Linked DNA regions of Homo sapiens: region 2 is linked to region 1. Evidence: promoter capture Hi-C in 16 types of primary human blood cells and fetal thymus (Javierre and others, 2016). All regions are on one chromosome and are shown on one strand. The core of a region is centred on a gene start or on the middle of the fragment in contact, and the rest is flanking DNA. Distances in the headings are between cores, read along the strand shown. Region 1 holds the start of ASPRV1 (aspartic peptidase retroviral like 1). Region 2 overlaps TIA1 (TIA1 cytotoxic granule associated RNA binding protein).

Region 1 (3,692 bases), core at 954-3,453:
CTGCTGCACTCCAGAAAAAGAAACAGAAATTTGGAAGCAAATACGAGATGGACCCCTAAAAGAGATGCACACCCCATTCCCAGATCTGGGAATGTCCTCCCCTCCATCAGGTCATCTAGTTTCAGGCTCTGTTCCAAGTCCCTCCAAGAAGAAGCTGACCTCCCACCGCCGGGACCCTGCCTTGCCACAGCCTCCCCCGTCCTCCAGCATGCCCTTGGGCTGCCCCACACAGGTCAACACTTGTCTCCTGGCCCTGCTTTCTGCCTCCAAGTTCTCGCTCCTGGACAGCTGTAAGAACCTATTTGCCCAGCAGACACTTTCCTGTTTGTTTATCATAACCATAATTTCCCAATCCCCAATCAAGACATCTCACATAAAACTTTAGGGTCACTTTTGGGTATAGAGGCAATTTGTATGCTAAAATACTACAGATTGAAATAAGTAGAGGAATTATGACGATTCAAAATAATGAGAGCAATTCTGGAGGGAATAAGTCAAAATATTTTATGCTGAGACTGTCTTAGAAAATCCAAGACCTGTCATCCCTGTGTATATGTTCTTATACCTCCAGCTAGGCACTCAGTAGACATGTGAATCTCCCTTGTCTTTGATGCTGACTCCCTCTCACATTCCTCTCATCCTCAATCAACACATTACATGGTTTTTCCATGAATCAATCTTTATTGGTGTTTGCAGCAATTGAATTATTGGCATAAGGCACAATGGGCTTCAAAGCAAATGACAGAAAGAAAATACGATTGTACAGGTGGAAAGGCTCTTCAGGGAGGTGTCCCAGAGCAACTGTGACCCTCACAAAGACCCTGCAGCTAGGACCCAGCCCAACTAAGACAGGCTTTGAGGACCTGAGAGTGACCAAGCCATACCTCAGGGAATCTGAAGGGGTCCCACAGTTCTTTCAAAGACAAGCATTTCTAGCTTCCTTGGGAGCTCTTCCAGCCTTTGAGTCTTTGTCATCAACAGCAGCTTGATGACCATGGGGACCCTGTCCCTCTAAGCCAGCCTGCTCTCCCTCACCTGTGCCTGTTCAGTGGAAGCCTCCCCTACCAGGGGCAGATTAAGGCCCCTGCAGAGGGAGGCAAAGGGGAGAGAAGAGCAAGAGTTGATAAGCAGACTGGCCAAGCCCAGTGACCCCCATGAGGATATGCAACCCCCCCCACAGCGGTGGGTCTTCCCACCAATATTTAGGAGGTTAAAGAAAAGGTGGCTTCTCAGTGGGATAGCTCCTGCCGCCCTTCTTCTGAGGAGGGGTCCTCCTCTATGAGCTCCAGGTCAAACTCATCTTCCAGGGACCCTCCCACAGGCAGAAGGCGAAACTTCTTCCCTTTCAGGGTGCATGTGCGGTGCTCAAAGTCCAGGATAGCATTGTGGTCCTGGAGCACATCAGTGCCAATGATGGCTTCCTCGGCACTCGCATTGGCCACTAGGAACTGTGCCTTCAGCTTCAGCTTGCCTAGGGACACCGCTGTATCCCAGACACCCAGGATCTTCATTTCAGCACCATTGGCCACCTTTACCACATTCTCAAAGGGCTGCAGGGTGTCCAGATCGCCATCAGTGACCTCCTCCCACAAGTTTGGGTGGACCACAGAGACCTGGGCCCCAGAGTCCACCAGGAACCTCACGGGCACTTTGCCAATCTTCCCCTTGAGATAGTAGCCCTTACCCATGCTGTTGGCAAAGACGATCTCTTTGGGCAGGTGGCTGGGGGCAGCCCCAGGGACCCCAAAGGCCTTCAGGAGGGCCTCTTTCACAGTCCCATAGTCTCCCTGGTCCTGGGGACTGAGCCTATTGTAGACACCCAGGGCCTCTCCTCTGAGGGACTCTTTCAGGAACCTTAGCTTGGTGATATGGTCCCAATGGTTGAGGTCATTGATGACTTCAAAGCTGTGCAGCCAGAGGTTTGGGACGACATTGGCCCCATCAAAAGGTTCCGGGACGAAGGCATGCTGCCGGCGGCCTTCCTCACTCCTGGCTCCGCTCCCGGCCATCCTGCTGCTCTCCTCTGGAACCTCAGCAGCAACCCACGCCAAGAAGAGAAACCCACAGAGCAGTGTCGGCGCAATCACGCTGGAAAACGGGGCCTCTCGAAGCAGAGTGGGGATGACTTGCCCGGCCTTGGGCAAGCAGGAGGGAGCAGGCGCGGTCGGCTGGCTGACTGCTGGGGCAGAGGCAGGCAGTGCTGTGGCCTGTTCACTCTGCAGAGCCTTTTTGATGCCTAGGCTGGCCCCTGGGCTCCCCATTCTCCTTTGTTCTGGAAGCTCCGCCCCTCCTCACCCCGCCCTCCTGCCAGCATCCGGCCGGACTAGCAGGATGGGTGCCTCACCCTCTGCATCCATCCTTGGACCAACACCAGCCAGCCCACATCCCAAGAAAGGCCAGCCTCTGTTGAAGGGGGACTACCCTGTACCCTCCCTGGCCTGTGTTCCAGAATAACAGATGAGGACACGGAGGATGTGATGACATTCAGGTATTTGTCATCAGCCAGTGAAGGAAGGGGAGGCAGGGACCAGACGCCCATCAGCTCAGAGACCGGGGAAGCCGCCATTGGCCTCCCCAACAAGTGACTACTTTGAGTGGTCAAAGGAAAACAGTTTACATGTACTGAGCTCCTACCACATGCCAGGCACTGGGAAGTGTCTCACACACATTCTAAAGCAGGTATGGGATCCTATGGGATTTCCTGGAGAGGGAGGCAGAGGAGGGTTCCAGCATAAAGAATGCACAGAAATGGTCTTTTTTAAGTGAGTGAGGACACACACACACACACACACACACACACACACGTGCACAATCATCTTACATGGACTCAACTGCTGCAGTAATTTTCCTTCATTGATCACCCCTGATTCAGAGGCAGAGGGGTGGCCAAGCAACTCTGGGTAGGCCCCATACTGCACTCCATGAGCATTGTCTCCACCCTATCCACCCCTCTCCATTTCCAGGAACTGTTCCAGGGCCCCTTCCCCAGGCACTGCAGCACTTCCTCTCCCACTCCCCAAGCTGGTCATTTGTGGAAAGATCACGGGAAATTTCACTCCCTTTTCATTCTGAGAGGGAAAATGTCCACTATGTTGGTGATGCCAGTGGTGAGGACCTGGAGGGCTCTGGCTCTGTGCCCCTCGCTGCAGGGGTAAAGGGTAGCACGGGAGGACATCCAGTCGTCTACAGAGGACATCTGTGAGTCCAAGGGCTGGAGGCCTGACTTGGGGCTGTGCAGGGGCTGTTGAAGGGATCCACTTTTATGTCCCCATTCAAAGGTCACTCCATGGAGCCTTCTGCCTGTCCCTAGAAAGGGCACCCACTCCTCGTTGAGCGTGTTTTACGGTGTGATCTGGTGGTTTGTTCACAAGTCTGCCTCTTGCTATGAACCAGAGTCTGGGGCTCACAAACCTGGCATTTGTGATTGTCTCCAGCCCCCAGAACAACTTCCTCTGGGACCCAGGGGCTCTTTGCTGGGCTCCAGGCCTAGCTGTGTGCTGTCACCAAACAGGAGTGATTAAGGATGGGAGAGGAGGAAGACTCGATGGCACACCTGTGGCTCTGGGGCTGTTTTTCCTGGCCAAGAGCCTGTCCCTCTTCAGCTCCCTATGCCATGCATCACCCAGTGCCTGGCGGAATCCCAGCAGTACCCTGCCTTTGGACAGTCCTGCCTCTGGATGGCCCAGGTCCCC
Region 2 (3,566 bases), core at 101-2,600, 260 kb after region 1:
GCTAATTTTTGTATTTGTAGTAGAGATGGGGTTTCGCCATATTGGCCAGGCTGGTCTCGAACTTCTTCTTCTTTTTTTTTTCTTTTTTAAGTCTCGCTCTGTGGCCCAGGCTGGAGTGTAATGGCGTGATCTCGGCTCACTGCAAGCTCTGCCTCCCAGGTTCACGCCATTCTCCTGCCTCAGCCTCCCAAGTAGCTGGGACTACGGGCACCTGCCACCACGCCTGGCTCATTTTTTGTATTTTTAGTAGAGACACGGTTTCGCCATGTTAGCCAGGATGGTCTCGATCTCCTGACCTCGTGATCCTCCCAACTCGGCCTCTCAAAGTGCTGGGATTACAGGCGTGAGCCACTGTGCCCGGCCCTGGTCTCAAACTTCTGACCTCAAGTGATCTGTCCACCTCAGCTTCCCAAAGTGCTAGGATTACAGGCATGAGCCACCATGCTCAACCCAATGGTGCTTTTGTATTGTTTTTCTCTTATTTGAATATTAAATTTTGGGAACATTAATCATCTGAAAAGGTCGTGAGCCCGACAGCCCTAATGAGGTAGATATCATAAAGTTCATGCAACTCAGACTACTATAGAAGAAAATCTTAAACAATCTAACAAGCTTGTTAACAATATTTGGTTTCTCATTCATCCAACAAATAAATATTGAACAGTTATGTTCCAGGCATGCGGTTAAGAGCTAGGGACACACTGGTAAACAAGCATACATGGTCTCTTACATTCTTTTGTGGGGAACAAATAAAGCAATTACATATTGTGGTAAGACCTATGACAGAAACAAAAGGCTGAGATAGAGAATATGGGCACAAGGATCTACTACAGACAGGATGAATAAGAAAGGTCTCTCTGAAATGACATTTAAACTAAGCCTGACAGCAATAGGAGATAGCCAAGTCAAAACAATGAGGAAGAAAGCCCCAGTAGAGAGAAAAGTATTGCAAAGTGTGTTAAGGCACAAAAGTTTGGTATGCATCTGAAAGCAGCATGTGAAAGACTAGTTTCAGTGGAATCCAGCGAGCAAAAAAGAATGTCAGAGAATGAAACTGAAAGATTTTAAGCAAGGAATCATCATGACCTATGTTTTAAGAAGGCCATTCTTTTTTTCGAGATGGAGTCTTGCTCTGTCTCCCAGGCTGGAGTGCAGTGGCGCGTTCTTGGCTCACTGCAAGCTCCGCCTCCTGGGTTCCTGCCATTCTCCTGTACAGGTGCCAGCCACCAAGCCCGGCTAATTTTTTTTTGTATTTTTTAGTAGAGACAGGGTTTCTTTTTTAGTAGAGACAGGGTTTCACCGTGTTAGACAGGATGGTCTCCATCTCCTGACCTCGTGATCCGCCTGCCTTGGCTTCCCAAAGTGCTGGGATTACAGGCGTGAGCCACCGCACCCGGCAAGAAGGCCATTCTTAGCGCTAAGAGGAGAATGGCTTAGGATAATGGGTAGTAAGGGGATAAAGATACTTTATGAAACTTGTGCAATATTCTAGATTTTTAAAAAGTGTTGGTGGCCAGGAGCATTGCAGTAGCAGTGAATGTAACTTAAACTCAAGGCCAAAATAATGGGGGCTGGAGGGGACACCACAAGCAAAAGGAGAGAAAAGATAACTCTTAGGTTCCTCTAGAGAAATTGGAAAGACAGCATTTATTGAAATGCGGAGAAAGACTAGGAAAGAAAAGGGGAACAGGTCTGAGGAAGAAACAAAAAGCTCCATTAAGAAAAAACTTTGAGATGCCTGTGAGACATATAAATGAAGACCATTTGTTAATAAATGTGGAACGCAGAGAAGTAGACTGAAGATACAAAATTCATGCAGACTAGAGAAAGAGCCTAGGACAGAGCCCTGAAAAACAGCAAAACTTGAAAAATGGGTAAAGGAATAATCACTAGCTAAGGTGACTAGGGAGGAGTAGCCAGTGATGAAGGAAGAAAGCCACAAAAGTGTATGGTCCAGGGAGCCAAGAAAACAGAGGTTAAGAGGTGACCTTGAAAATAGAGTAGCATTGGTACAAAGTGAGAGTAAAACCAGCTTAGAGTAGACTAAAAAGTAAATGGAGTGTAACTTTTGTGTGCACACATCAAAGGTAAGCTTAATCTACTACTGAAGGAACAGGCAAATTCAAGGCCTTTCTTGAAATATGAAAACGAAATGCTTTAAAAAAAAATTAAATAGGGTCTTATTCTGTCATCCAGGCATGATCACAGCTTACTGTAGCCTTGAACTCCTTGGGCTCAAGTGATACTCCCACCTCAGCCTCCTAGTAGCTAGGACTATAAGCATGCACCAACAAGGTTGGCTGTTTTTTTTATTTTTTTAATTTCTTTACTATGGTAGGAACAGCCTTTACTGGTTGCAACAGGCAATGGGAGGGATTCGGGGTCCACAGACTAGGTCGCCAGGCTTTTTTTTTTTTTTTTTTTTAATGGAGACAGGGTCTTGCTGTTGCCCAGGCTGGTTTCTAACTCCTGGGCTCAAGCAGTCCTCCTCCTGCCTTGGCCTCCCAAAGTTCTGTTATTACAGGAATGAGCCACTGTGCCTGGCAGGAAATGCACATTCTTAAAAAGAAACAAATATTATCACCCCAACCAGTCCGAACTCCATGAGACGCTTAACTAATGTTATGTGTTGAATTGTGTCCCTCAAAACGATATGAAGTCCTATACCCTGGTATCTGTGAAATATGGCCTTATTTGGAAACAGGGTCTTTGCCGAAGTAATTAAGATGAGGTTATACTGGATTAAGGTGGGCCCCAAATCCAATGACTCAAGTCCTCATAAGAAGTAAAGATCAGACTGGGCACGGTGGCTCACACTTATAATCCCAGCACTTGGGAGGCCGAGGCAGGTGGATCATGAGCCCAGGAGTTCGAGACCAGCCTGGACAACATGACAAAATCCTGTCTCTACAAAAAATAGAAAAATTAGCTGGGCATGGTGTTGCAACACCTGTAGTCCCAGCTACTTAGGAGGTTGTGATGGAAAGATCACCTAAGCCTGGGAGGTCAAGGCTGCAGTGAGTTGTGATTGTGCCACCACACTCCAGCCTGGGTGACAGAGTGAGGTCCTGTCTCGAAAAAAAAAGATGATGATTATATGGATACACAAAGAGAGAAGATGGTCATGTGAAGATGAAGGCAGAGATTGGAGTTATACAGCTACAAGCCAATGAATGCCAAGAATTACCAGCAACCACCAGAAGCTTGGAAGAAGCAACAAAGGATTCTTCTACAGAGCCTTCAAAAGAGCATGGACATGCTGACACCTTGATTGTGAATTTCACGCCTCCAAAACATTGAGAAAATAAATTTTTGTTGCTCTAAGCCATCCAGTTTATGATACTTTGATACAGCTCCTCAGGAAAAAAATAAAACTACTCACTCAAAAAAGTGGAAAAAAAACAGAGATGTATCTATGTTGGTGGTTGTGAATGGGAGATAAAGTAGAAGCATATGCAAACAACTCTTGAGAATTATAGCCAAGAAATGGGGATACAGTTAGGGAAGGGATGTGAGGATAAACAGTGGTTTTGATTAAGAGATACTAGATGGCCAGGAACGGTGCC

Evidence for each region. The method cuts DNA at HindIII sites, captures the fragments that hold promoters and counts their contacts. A CHiCAGO score of 5 or more calls a contact.
Region 2: a contact is called between a fragment that was not itself captured here and the fragment with the promoter of ASPRV1 in region 1, in 11 of 17 cell types (total CD8 T cells, activated CD4 T cells, monocytes and 8 more). The highest score is 7.9, in total CD8 T cells.

The regions. Positions count from the first base shown.
Region 1 is chr2:69,959,428-69,963,119 of GRCh38, forward strand. ASPRV1 (aspartic peptidase retroviral like 1) reads right to left here and starts at 2,204. Exons shown (of 1, transcript NM_152792.4): 1 at 662-2,204. The coding sequence starts at 2,009. The coding sequence ends at 1,230. PCBP1-AS1 (PCBP1 antisense RNA 1) reads right to left here. Exons shown (of 11, transcript NR_033872.1): 11 at 2,836-3,692. RefSeq lists a silencer at 2,090-2,384. The HindIII fragment of the contact is 12,271 bases long and covers 1-3,692 here.
Region 2 is chr2:70,217,334-70,220,899 of GRCh38, forward strand. All of the region lies in intron 7 of TIA1 (TIA1 cytotoxic granule associated RNA binding protein), which reads right to left. Among named protein-coding and RNA genes, the nearest start is that of C2orf42, 28 kb to the left of the region's middle. The HindIII fragment of the contact is 1,480 bases long and covers 611-2,090 here.